2 separate regions of the Homo sapiens genome follow, and region 2 is linked to region 1. The links are contacts of gene promoters, found by promoter capture Hi-C in human tissues and cell types (Jung and others, 2019). All regions are on one chromosome and are shown on one strand. The core of a region is centred on a gene start or on the middle of the fragment in contact, and the rest is flanking DNA. Distances in the headings are between cores, read along the strand shown. Region 1 holds the start of PDILT (protein disulfide isomerase like, testis expressed). Region 2 has its middle 130 kb from the start of GPR139.

The links. The method cuts DNA at HindIII sites, captures the fragments that hold promoters and counts their contacts. A contact is called where the count stands out against the background at its distance.
Region 2: a contact is called between a fragment that was not itself captured here and the fragment with the promoter of PDILT in region 1, in 2 of the 25 tissues and cell types used here (mesenchymal stem cells and spleen).

The regions. Positions count from the first base shown.
Region 1 is chr16:20,403,235-20,409,776 of GRCh38, forward strand. It overlaps PDILT (protein disulfide isomerase like, testis expressed), which reads right to left and starts at 1,503. Exons shown (of 12, transcript NM_174924.2): 1 at 1,262-1,503. It overlaps ACSM5 (acyl-CoA synthetase medium chain family member 5), which reads left to right and starts at 6,300. Exons shown (of 14, transcript NM_017888.3): 1 at 6,300-6,431. The HindIII fragment of the contact is 3,912 bases long and covers 1-3,825 here.
Region 2 is chr16:20,196,727-20,202,612 of GRCh38, forward strand. No RefSeq gene overlaps it. Among named protein-coding and RNA genes, the nearest start is that of GPR139, 130 kb to the left of the region's middle. The HindIII fragment of the contact is 5,308 bases long and covers 1,927-5,886 here.

The DNA of each region.
Region 1 (6,542 bases), core at 253-2,752:
TCTTTGTGCTTCACCTCAACCCATTCCCCACACAACAATCAGACATTTCCTTTATTTTTATTTTTATTGTTTGAGACAGAGTTTTGCTCTTGTTGCCCAGGCTGGAGTGCAATCACATGATCTTGGCTCACTGCAGCCTCCGCCTCCTGGGTTTAAGCGATTCTCCTGCTTCAACCTCCCTAGCAGCTGGGACTACAGGCACCCGCCACCATGCCCGGCTAATTTTTGTATTTTTAGTAGAAACGGGATTTCACCATGTTGGCCAGGCTGGTCTCAAACTCCTGACCTCAGGTGATCCACCTGCCTGGGCCTCCCAAAGTGCTGAGATTGCAGGCGTGAGCCACCGTGCCCAGCAGAGATTTCCTTTCGACACAGGAATTCCATCACACCACTGTGCCTATCAAAAGGTGCTCACTTTTGTGCAAAAAAAAGCTTCTGCCTCTTTTTTTTTTACAATCCATTCGCAAAACCGCACACCAGCCAAACTGTTCTCTGTGGTCTACCAGGCCCCACTGGCTCTGGACCCATCTGACCTTATCGCCCTCCTCTCTCTCTCTCCTCCCGCACTCTGGGGAGCCACACTGGCCTCTTCCCTTTCCCAAGCACACCCTACCCGGGGCCTTTGCCTCTGTCTGGGGCACCCTTCCCTCACATCGTCAGCCTTTTCTGGTTCTCTGGGTCCTAGCTCGAATCCACGCTCATCAGAAGGGTCTTCCCGGGCCACTCTGTCTCACCCCATCTCAGCTTTCAGCACTCTCTGCCATATCACCATTGTTTGCATCATATTTTGTATTATTATTTATGAGTGTACTTTGTTGTTGTTGTCATTTTGAACTTTTTAATGTAAATACCATTGTTCACAGCTGTTTTCTCCCCTTCAGAACAGTGCCTGTACCAGATTTGGAACTCAATGAATGTTTGTTGAATGAATGAATGAATGGCCTAATTTAACTCTTACAGCAAACCCCATTGGTTCATTTCAGTGGTTCTCAACCATGACTATGCTGAGAATCTCTTGGAGAGTTTAATAAAAAATACTGATGTTCAAACCCAAACCCAGTAGGTTCTAATTTAATTGATCTGGGGTTGGGTGAGTCTGGGCATTATTATTATTTTTTAAAATCCTCAAGTTGATCCTAATGTGTAGCCATCTATACACCAAAACTGACACTTAAAACTTAAACTGGTGACTCCTGGTAGAGAAAAGCCTCCCAAGGCAGGGCCCATCAGTCAGATTTCCCATTTTCACTGAAGCTCATACCTGCAGGAAGCCAAGGCCACTCCCAGGGTTCCTGGGGCCAAGGTGGGGCTGTGCTGGGGGTGGGGCCACAAACTCTGTGGCCCTTAAGAAGGAAGGTTGTAGCCTGAAGAGGAGGCTCCTGGCTTCTCCTTGTGATCAGGGCAGGACCCGCAGACGACTGGGCATTCTAAAGAATCCACAGGCAGAAATGAAGTCCCTTCCTGGGCACACAGAGGCCACAGCAGCCTCAGCAGCAAAGTTCTGAGTTCTGGGGTTCTAGAGGACCAGGGGTGACCCTGTAGAAGAATGGGCCATTGTTGAGTAAGAGGGGGCCCTGCCTGGCAGCCCTTGCTGAGTTTGCTTGAGGGGCTAGAAACAAAACTCAGTGTGGGGTGCTGGGTATGGCCCAGGAGGGCTCTGAACTCAGTGCCTATAGATTGGAATTTGAATCCCAGCTCTGTCTTGAACAGCTGTATGGCCTTGAGAATGTCACTTACTCTTTCTGAGGTTCAGTTTCCATGCCTGTTACATGGCATCTAACTCATGGGGGTGTTGTAAGCAAAGTAAATTATGTGGAATTTAGAAGATAATTAATGATATGAAGAAAAATAAAACCTGGAAGGATGATGAGGAACGCCTGAGAGGGGGATGGGATAAAATAAGAGGATTTATGCAAAACGAGCAGCTCAGTACCTAGAAGGCAGGAGCCCCTCACGCATCACCACCCTGGCCTCATCTCCTAGGGGAGAAAGATCTCCACTCACCCTGCTCCAGCCACACTGGTGTCCCTGCCAGTCCTCCAATACAATGTCTGGGCCTCTACACTTGTGGTTTCCCCTGTTAGGGAGGCTCTTCACCCAGGTGGACTCAGGGTTCACCCCTTAGCTCGTTCCAGTCTTTGCCCAAATGTCACTTCCACAGTTGGGCCTTTCCTGGCCACTTTGTTTAAATTTGTAAGTGCCCCATCCCCCTCTCAGGCGTTCCTCATCCTCCTTCCAGGCTTTATTTTCCTTCATAGCATTAATTTTCTTCTAAACTCCACATAATTTACTTTGCTTACCTGGTGATAGGTGCTCAGTAAATATTTGTTGAATGAATAAAGAAAAGGCTGTTGATATTATTAGCATCGTTATTACTGTCAGAGTTTGCAGCCTTTGGCTATCTGCTGCCCAACTGTTATTAAATACTGATGGAGATGACTAACATTCATTTCACTAAATTTTAACATCTGTGGGTTTTAGTCCTAGCGCTTTGCTCTTCTCTTTCTTTTCTTTTTCTTTGAGACAGTGTAGTGGCGCGATCTCCACTCACTGTAGCCTTCACCTCCAGGGTTCAAGCGGTTCTCCTGCCTCAGCCTCCTGAGTAGCTGGGACTACAGGCATGCACCACCACGTCTGGCTAATTTTTGTATTTTTAGTAGAGACGGGGTTTCACCACATTGGCCAGGTCGGTCTCAAACTCCTGACCTCAAATGATCTGCCTGCCTCGGCCTCCCAAAGTGCTGGGATTACAGGCGTGAGCCACGGCATGCGGCCCCACTCTTCTCTTTCCATACTTAACTTCCATACTTTTGTTGGCTTGTTTAAATGCATGACTTCAAATACACCCCTTTATAAGTTACTCTCTCATTTACTCTCCAGGATTTGATCAATTGATTACATTTACTATTAAGACCGTTTTCCATCTGCCTATTAGAAAAGCTCTTTTTGGTTGAACCACACTCACTGAATATCTGAATGTCTTAATTTGAACTCATCATGTCCCTTTCAACTTTTCTTGGCAATTATTCCTTTTCTGGATGTTGTGTTTGCAAATAATTCCTGGGATGTGTTTGACTCTTTTTTCTCCCAGGCCTAAATCAACAATCTAGTCTGGCATATATTATTTTGACATCTTTCACACTTGTCAACTGTTAGTCACAAACTAAAACACTTGGGTTATTATCCCAAATGTCCTTCATTCATTTTCCTTCACTCTTGCACACAGTTGTTTCTTGACATAACATAGGCACTTTTATGATGATACTCATTTACTGATAAAGCTGCTGCTGCTTTTTTTTTTTTTGACAGAGTCTTGCTCTCTTGCCCAGGCTGGGGTGCAGTGGTGCAATCTTGGCTCACTGCAACCTCCGCCTCCTGAGTTCAAGTAATTCTCCTGCCTCAGCCTCCTGAGTAACTGGGATTACAGGCATGCACCACCACGGCCGGCTAATTTTTGTATTTTTAGTAGAGACGAGGTTTCACCATTTTGGCCAAACTGGTCTCAAACGCCTGACCTCAGGTGATCCACCTACCTCGGCCTCCCAAAGTGCTGGGATTACAGGCGTGAGCCACTGTGCCCGGCTTAAAGCTTCTTTTTATAAAATAACATTAATTTCTTTCTGATTAGAAAAGAACAGGATTTAATTTCTAAAACATAGAACATACAGAAAAAATGAGTTAATTGAAATCATACATCATCTTACTTAGAGAAACATTCATATTTTGTTACGTATGGGATTAATATATACTTTTTAAAAATAAAATTGTGATTATATTGTCTATAAAGTGTATCCAGTTCTTTCATTGAACATTTATGAAACATTTGTCATGACTTATGATTATATATTCTTCTAAAAAGTACTGATTGAGAGTAACGATATTGAGATTAGACTGCTGGAGAAATAATGTTCAACAGTCCGTCCACCCCTCTGAGGGTAGAGATTGTATCTTTACATCTGGCTGCAGATTCAGAGATGAGGTTGTATCCTGGGTCGCAGTAGAGGACTGAATGCTGAGCAAATGGACATTGAGGGCTCATAAGATGGTTCCCTGTGGCCAAGCTTGGCGGCAAGGGAGAGGAGCTGCCTGCGTGGAAATGGGCCAAACTGGCCAGGCCAGGAAATGAGACAGAGTCACAGGGGAACAACATACAGTGATGGATAAAAATCCAGGGTGAAGTTTGAATCACTGCAAAGATAGGCAGTTAATGGCTCAGCATCCTCTCTATAGGACACCCATAACCCTGTCATTTGCAACAACATGGATGGAACTGGAAGTCATTACATTAAGGGAAGTAAGCCAGGCATAGAAAGCAAACATTGCACATTCTCGCTTACCTGTGGGAGCTAAACAGGAAAACAAATGAACTCATGGAGACAGTAGAAGGACGGTTACCAGAGGCTGGAAAGTGTTGCAGGGAGTTGGAGGAGAAGTGGGGATGGTTAATGGGTACAAAAAAGTAGTAAGAGTGAATGAATAAGGCCTAGTATTTCCTAGCACAATAGGATGACTATCTTCAAAAATAATGTAACCATACACCTAAAATAACTACAATAGTATAAATGGATTGTTTGTAACACAAAGGATAAATGTTTGAGGTGATGGACACCCCATTTACCCTGATGTGATTCTAACGCATTGCATGCCTGTATCAAAATATCTCATGTAACCCATAAATGTATATACCTACTATGTACCCACAAAAATTAAAAATAATTTAAAAAGAACTTCAGAGAACAAACAACAAAAAGACCGGTATGGCTGGAGCAGACTGAGACAGGAGGTTTGAGGCGAAAGGCTCACAGGAATTCCTGTGGGGCCCTGTAGGCAATTGCCAGGACTTTTTTTTTTTTTTTGAGACGGAGTCTCACTCTGTCTCCCAGGCTGGAGTGCAGTGGCACGATCTCGGCTCACTGCAACCTGTGCCTCCCAGGTTCATGCCATTCTCCTGCCTCAGCCTCCAGAGTAGCTGGGACTACAGGCGCCCACCAGAGTAGCTGGGACTACAGGCGCCACCACGCCTGACTAATTTTTGTATTTTTAGTAGAGACAGGGTTTCGCCGTGTTAGTCAGGATGGTCTCAATCTTCAGACCTCGTGATCCGCCCGCCTTGGCCTCCCAAAGTGTTGGGATTACAGGCGTGAGCCATCCCACCCGGCAATCGTCAGGACTTTGGCTTGGACTGTGAGTGAGATAGGGAGTTGCAGGAAGCTTTTTCGAAAAACCACCTTTGGGCCAGGTGCAGTGGCTCCCACCTATAATCCCAGCACTTTGGGAGGCCAAAGCAGGCAGATCACTTAAGGTCAGGAATTTGAGACCAACCTGGCCAACATGTTGAAACCCCATCTCTACCAAAAAAATACAAAAATTAGCCAGGCATGGTGGTGCATGCCTATATTCCCCGCTACTCGGGAGGTTGAGGTGGGAGGATCGCTTGAACCCGGGAGGTGGAGGTTGCAGTGAGCCAAGATTGCGCCACTGCACTCCAGCCTGGGCGACAGAGCAAGAGCCTGTCTCCAAAAACAAACAAAAAAACCCAAAAAACTTCTTTTGGCAGTGTACAATTATTATTACTATTTTTTGTAGTAAATTTACAGAGATCTGCAGTCATGACCACAATCCAAATTTAGAACAATTCTATGACTTCAAAGGGATGCCTTAGAGCCGTTCCCTGGAACCACTCCTCTGTTCTCTCTGTATCTACTGGAGGGTTCTAAGCAGAAAAGAAACAAAGTCTGACTTATATTATTATCACTATTGCACCTTTTCTGTTAAAACATCATAATCCCAGCACTTTGGGAGGCCGAGGCGGGCGGATCACGAGGTCAGGAGATCGAGACCGTCCTGGCTAACACGGTGAAACCCCGTCTCTACTAAAAAATACAAAAAATTAGCCGGGCATGGTGGTGGGCGCCTGTAGTCCCAGCTACTCGGGAGCCTGAGGCAGGAGAATGGCGCAAACCCGGGAGGTAGAGCTTGGGGTGAGCCAAGATCGCGCCACTGCACTCCAGCCTGGGCCACAGAGGGAGACTCCGTCTCAAAACAAACAAACAAACAAAAAAAAAAACCCGTCATAATCTTCCTGTTGCTTTTTCCGATTAGATGGCGACTTGAATTTTTAGGGAATACATCCACCAGTTTGGGCACACCCACCAGGCACGACAGTTGAGGTCTGATCTTCCAGCCACTGTGAGTACTGAGAAAACTTGGCAGGGGGCCACTCTCACTGGCTCAATGCACCCTGACCACTGGAAGCCACTGTGTCAGCTGCTGGGTTCTGGCTCTGCCCACTCTTGGCTGCATTTGGGGCTGAAGTTCCCTGTGGGAGGCTGTTTTCTGAGGGAGCTGAGTGTTTACAGCCACTCAGCCCTGCTCTGCTCAGCTGAAGCAGAAAACAGAGACCTTTTGCATTACTTTGGTTCAAGAGCAAGGTAATTTGGAAAGAAATTTTTCAGACGAAGGTATCAGCTGCCTCTGAGGCCTTTGCTGATTAAATCAAGAAGTGACATCTGAAATGGTGTCGGGGAATGGGAAGGAGGCCT
Region 2 (5,886 bases), core at 3,331-5,830, 200 kb before region 1:
CTCTCACACACTCCTAAAGTCAGTGAATGCTGTTATACAGGCATGAACCGAGTATTGCAGCAGGACAGAGCAGCGAGTGAGTAATTCTTACCAATATTGATGAAAGAAAGAGGCTGTATGCTGGAGAGGTCTTCAGAGACATGTCTGTGCTTCTAGCTGCTATGCATTTGAGCTGCATCTCATAGAACATGTCGAATTTTACCAGGTAAAGAGAGGCATTTTTCAGCTTTTTCCTTAAGGGGTGGTGTAGTGCGGACTGACATTGAGCCCTAACCCATGTCTCTTTTCTTCAAACAGCATTGCTGCAGACAATTCAGTATAGGAAAACAGTGGCCTAGAATTACAGGATATTAAAGCTCAAATGAGTCTGATTCCCTAATTTTTCAGGTGAAGCATGGAGGTAAACTGATTTGCCCAAGGTCACCCAGCAGTTGACTGATTATTCTATTTTACTGCTGGCCATCAACTCAAAGCTATTTCTATTAGATTACTTGGATGTGCAAGACAGCAGGTCAGAAAAATCTACTGGGGGCGCTGGAGGCAGACAGACCTGGGTTTGAGTCCTGATTCTGGCACTTCCTCACTGTTACCTGTTAGAGGGTTCATAAACTTTAATTGCCTTATATGTAGGCATCACAGTCTGAAACCTGTCTCTCTGGGTTCTATACCAGCACCACTACTTACTAGGTGTATGAGCTTGATCATGCTACTTAACCTCTCTGGGTCAGTAAATATGGGGATAATAATAGTACTTACCTCACAGAGCTATATGACGAAGTGAATTTAGGACTACAGAACATAAGACACAATAAATAGTGCCTGGGACATATAAAGTACTATATGTTAACATTATTATTATTATTATTATTATTATTATTATTATTTTTTGAGACAGAGTCTCGCTCTTTCGTCCAGGCCGGAGTGCAGTGGCGCTATCTCGGCTCACTGCAAGCTCCGCCTCCCAGGTTCATGCCATTCTCCTGCCTCAGCCTCCCGAGTAGCTGGGACTACAGGCACCTGCCACCGCGCCTGGCTAATTTTTTGTATTTTCAGTAGAGATGGGGTTTCACCGTGTTCGCCAGGATGGTCTCGATCTCCTGACCTTGTGATCCACCCACCTCGGCCTCCCAAAGTGCTGGGATTACAGGCGTGAGCCACTACGCCCAGCCAACATTATTATTTTTAAAAAGATGATAGGACTGTTATAAGGATGAGCTGGAGTCATTTAGTTAAAAGCATTTTCTAAGCTTATAAAACAATACAAGTATAATTTATTTATGTGAATTAAAAGAGTGGAAGCCCAGAGAATGAAGTTGATGAGTATTATTTCTTTAAAAAGAATTTTAAGAAATGTTTATATATTTGGGAGGTACAAGTGTAGATTTCTTACATGCCTGTATTGTGTTGTGGTGAAGTCTAGGCTTTTAGTACCCATCACCCCAATACTGAACATTATACCCGATAGGTCATTTTTCAGCCCTCATCCCCCTTTTGCCCTCTGATCTTTTTGGGTCAGCAGTGTCTATTATTGCACTCTGTATGCCCACATGTATCCATTGTTTAGCCCCTACTTATAAGTGAGAACATGCAGTATTAGTATTTGACTTTTAGTTTCTGAGTTATTTTACTCAGGATAATGGCCTCCAGTTCCATTCATGTTGCTGCTAAAGAGATGATTTCACTCTTTTTTATGGCTGAGTAGTATTCCATGGTGAGATATATATATATATATATATATATATATATATATACACACATATATATGTATATATAGATATACACACACACATACACACATAATATAAAATTTTATATATTTATATATTATTTATATATAATTATAAATTTTATATGAATAAAAGTATAAAATTTTATATATAATATGAAATATATAATGGTATATATACCCACCATATATACCATATAAATATGTGTATTATATTTATACATTATACCATAAAATATGTATTATATGAAATTACCATATTTTCTTTATTCACTCCTCTGTTGATGGACACTTAGGTTGATTCCATATCTTTGCTCTTATGAATAGTGCTGCAATAAACATATGAGTGCAGTATCTTTTTGATATAATGACGTTTTTTTCCTTTGGGAAAATGAGAAAAAATATTTGCGGGATTCTCTGGATTGAATGGCAGCTCTGTATATATAGTTCTTTGAGGAATATCCACACTGCTTTTCCATAAAGGTTTTACTAACTTACATTCCCACCAACAGCATATAAGTGTTCCTTTTTCTCTGCATCTTTGCCAGCATCTGTTGGTTTTGACTTTTTCATAATAGCCATTCTGACTGGTGTAAGACAGTATATCATTGGGATTTGTGCATTTTTCTGATGATTAGTGATGTTGAGCATTTTTAAAAAGACGTTTGTTTGTCTCTTGTATTTCTTCTTTTGAAAAATGTCTGTTCATGTCCTTTGCCCACTTTTTATTCGGGTTATTTTTTTCTCTCGTTGAGTTGTTTGAGTTCCTTGTAGATTCTGGATATTAGCCCTTTGTTGGATGCATAGTTTGCAAATATTTTTTTCCCATTCTGCAGGTTGTCTGTTTACTCTATTGATTGTTTCTTTTGCTGTGCAGAAGCTTTTCAGTTTAATTAAGTCCCATTCGTCTATTTTGTTTTTATTGCGTTTGCTTTTGAGGACTTGGTCATAAATTCTTTGCCTAGGCCAACGTCCAGAAGAGTTTTTCCTAGGTTTTCTTTCAGAATTTTTATAGTTTCAGGTCTTCTGTTTAGGTCTTTAATCCAACTTGAGTTAATTTTTGTATATGCTGAGATATATGGGTCCAGTTTCATTCTTCTGCATATGGCTATCCAATTTTCCCAGCACCACTTATTGAAGTGTGTCTTCCCCAGAGTATATTTTTGTTGACTTGGATTACTATCATTTCTTCAAGCCCTACTGCGTGGCAGGGACTTTACATACATCATTTAAGTGTCAGAATAACCTAGAAGATGTTATTATTTTTTGCTGACAAGAGAGGGAGCAAGGCAGAGGACAGTAGGGAAATTCACAACCCTGGGCCCAGGCTGTCTGCAACTGAATCCTCACTTGGTTGCTTACTGGCTATGTGAACACAGGTGAATAACATAAACCCCCATACCTCAGTTTCCTAGACTGTAAACAAAGATGTTAAAAACAGTAACATCTACTTGATAGGCTGTTCTGAGGATTAAAAAAAATAATTTTGTGAAGTGTTTAGGATGGTATATGACACATAGTAAAGGTTACATGAGCGTAAGTGAAAGAAAGAGAAAGAAACGAAGGAGGGAGGGAGGAAGGAAGGAAGGAAAGAAGGAAGAAAGAAAGAAAAAGAAAGAAAGAAAGAATGAAAGAAAGAGAAAGAAACGAAATAACCTAGCACCAAAGAGATTAAGTAGTTTGTTTACAACATCTAATATCTGGAGGGGTTGGGATGTAAAAGCAGGTCTGTCTGGGTCCCCTCTGAAGCCTGTACCCCTTCTGCTGAACCAGGCTTAGAAGAGACAGGGACAGGAGATGTGTTTTAGGAGGTCAGGCAGAACCAATCCCCCAGGATTTCAAAGGCAGCGTCTTGTTCTAAATGAATGATCAGGAAAGCCATGAGGCATGCTTGGTGTTCAGAAAGGATAATCGTCAACTTGAAGCTAATCCACTTCACATCAAGCCAGAGTCCCTAAAGCCACTTGGTGGACAGGTCCTTCCTCCACTCCATTCCAGTCAAAGACTTGCTGTGCTGGAGCTCGAAGCTCTGTCTTTTTTGTCTCCATTTGGCAATACTTGGGGAGCTCATCCAGGGACACAGGGACTTCAGGGCCTGTGTCTAGAAATTACAAACCACAGACAAATATTGGAATTCTTTCTTCACTGACACTGTCATGTTTTCTCAGGGACATTTCAATTTTCCAGCCTTTAGCTGCTCCCTGTGAGCTGAGTGAGGGTTCTATCTTGGCAGTGTGGGGCTGGATCGCCTATTAAAGTCTTCATTTGTGCTTTGTTTTCCTGTTCCCTATCCCATTGAATTTAAAATGCTATTGATTTTTAAAAGGCACCACTGTTTTGTATTTCACTAAGAAAAAACAAAACATACTACCAATTAACCGATGACACAAGAAAAATGCACATCTCAGAATAAATAAAATGAGGTGTTTTCTGAGAAGGTAGCCAGTCCTTTGTATGTTTCGTCTGGAAGGTGGACCTCCTTCCTAACATTTGGTTTTGAAAATCAAAGCTTATTCAGGAAATAATGTTAGATGGGTCTTGAAAAAGTGAGGATGAGGGAGACAAGTTCTTCTGGGGGCTGGAGCAGATGTAAGAAGCACAGAGAGAAGAGAAAAGTGAATCCTTAGTCTAGGAAGGTGGTCAGGCTCTGGGAGGCGTTGAAATCTGTGGTTGGCTTCCTCGTAAGGGTGTTAAGAGCTCAAGCTGATGGTCAAGGTGCCTCCTTGAAGGTGTACTTAGGTGCTGGCTTCCAGCCTCCACTGAGGCTCCCACGGCCAAACAAGACTCATCAGCAGTACAGCTGCCTGACTCCAGAGGGCTAAGTGGCTTGAGATCGCTCAGAATATTTGGCACTTTCTAAGAACTTTGAGGCTCTTTCTTAGTCCTTGAGAGTGGGAAGAAGCTCTGATAATAACTAGGATTGAATTTCCTGACTGACCAATGGGATGAGGCTGGGATTAAAATTTAATTCAGAGGAAATAAAGTACTGTGAAAATTTTGTCCATTTAGTTTATAGAACAAGCGCTAAATTGACATCTGTATCTATTACATGTCTGTTACATATGTTTAAGAATTCTTTTACAGACAGGGTCTTTCTCTGTTGCCCAGACTGGAGTGCAATGGCACCATCATAGCTCACTGCAGCCTCAGCCTCCTGGCCTCAGGAGACCCTCCCATCTCAGGCCCCTGAGTACCTGGGACTACAGGCATGCACCACCATGCCTAGCTAATTATTTATTATTTTAGGGGTGCGGCCTTCCTATATTGCCCAGGCTGCTCTCAGGCTCCTGGCCCCAAGCCATCCTCCCACCTTGGCCTCCCAAAGTGCGTTAATTACAGGCATGAGCCACCACACTTGGCTCTAAATTTTTTTTTTTTAATTGAAAACCTACTCTGGGTGGAAACAATCCTTGATCCCAGCCCCAGTTCCCCCAGAATTTTCTGTGTGGCTCCATGGGGTTTTACCTGGTATTTCTCATCATGACACTATAGGTATTGGGGCTGGGTGAATCCTGCACATTGAAGATGGTTTTGCATATTGTTTAACCCTCCCATGGTCAGCGGTGTCCCCTCGGTCACTATGAAAACATAAAATGCTCCCTACATTTCCAAATGACTCTTATGGTGAGGGGTGCCACCTCTGAGTGAGAGCCACTGTAATAATGGGCTACAGCCATGGCTTTGCTGAGTGATGTAAGCCACTCAAACTCTCTGGGCTTACACTTCATTCATCACTGCATTGTCATAATTTAAGGATAAGTTCTTTTTTTTTTTTTTTTTTACAGTCTCCCCTGTAGCCCAGGCTGGAGTACAGTGGCGCGATCTCGGCTCACTGCAACCTCCACCTCACAGGTTCAAGCGATTCTCCTGCCTCAGCCACCTATATAGCTGGGATTACAGGTGCCTGCCACCATGCCCGGCTAATTTTTGCATTTTTCTTAGAGACGGGGTTTTGCCATATTGGCCAGGCTGGTCACAAACTCCTGGGCTCAAGCGATCCACCTGCGTTGGCCCCACAAAGTGCTGGATTACAGGCGTGAGCCACTGCTCCCGGCAAGGATAACTTCTTAATAGGGCAGCAAAAAAGTGTATAAAACAAAGAAACAATCCCCAAAACAACCAGCTGCATAAAAATATACTCTCTGAGGGTAAGCAGGGGA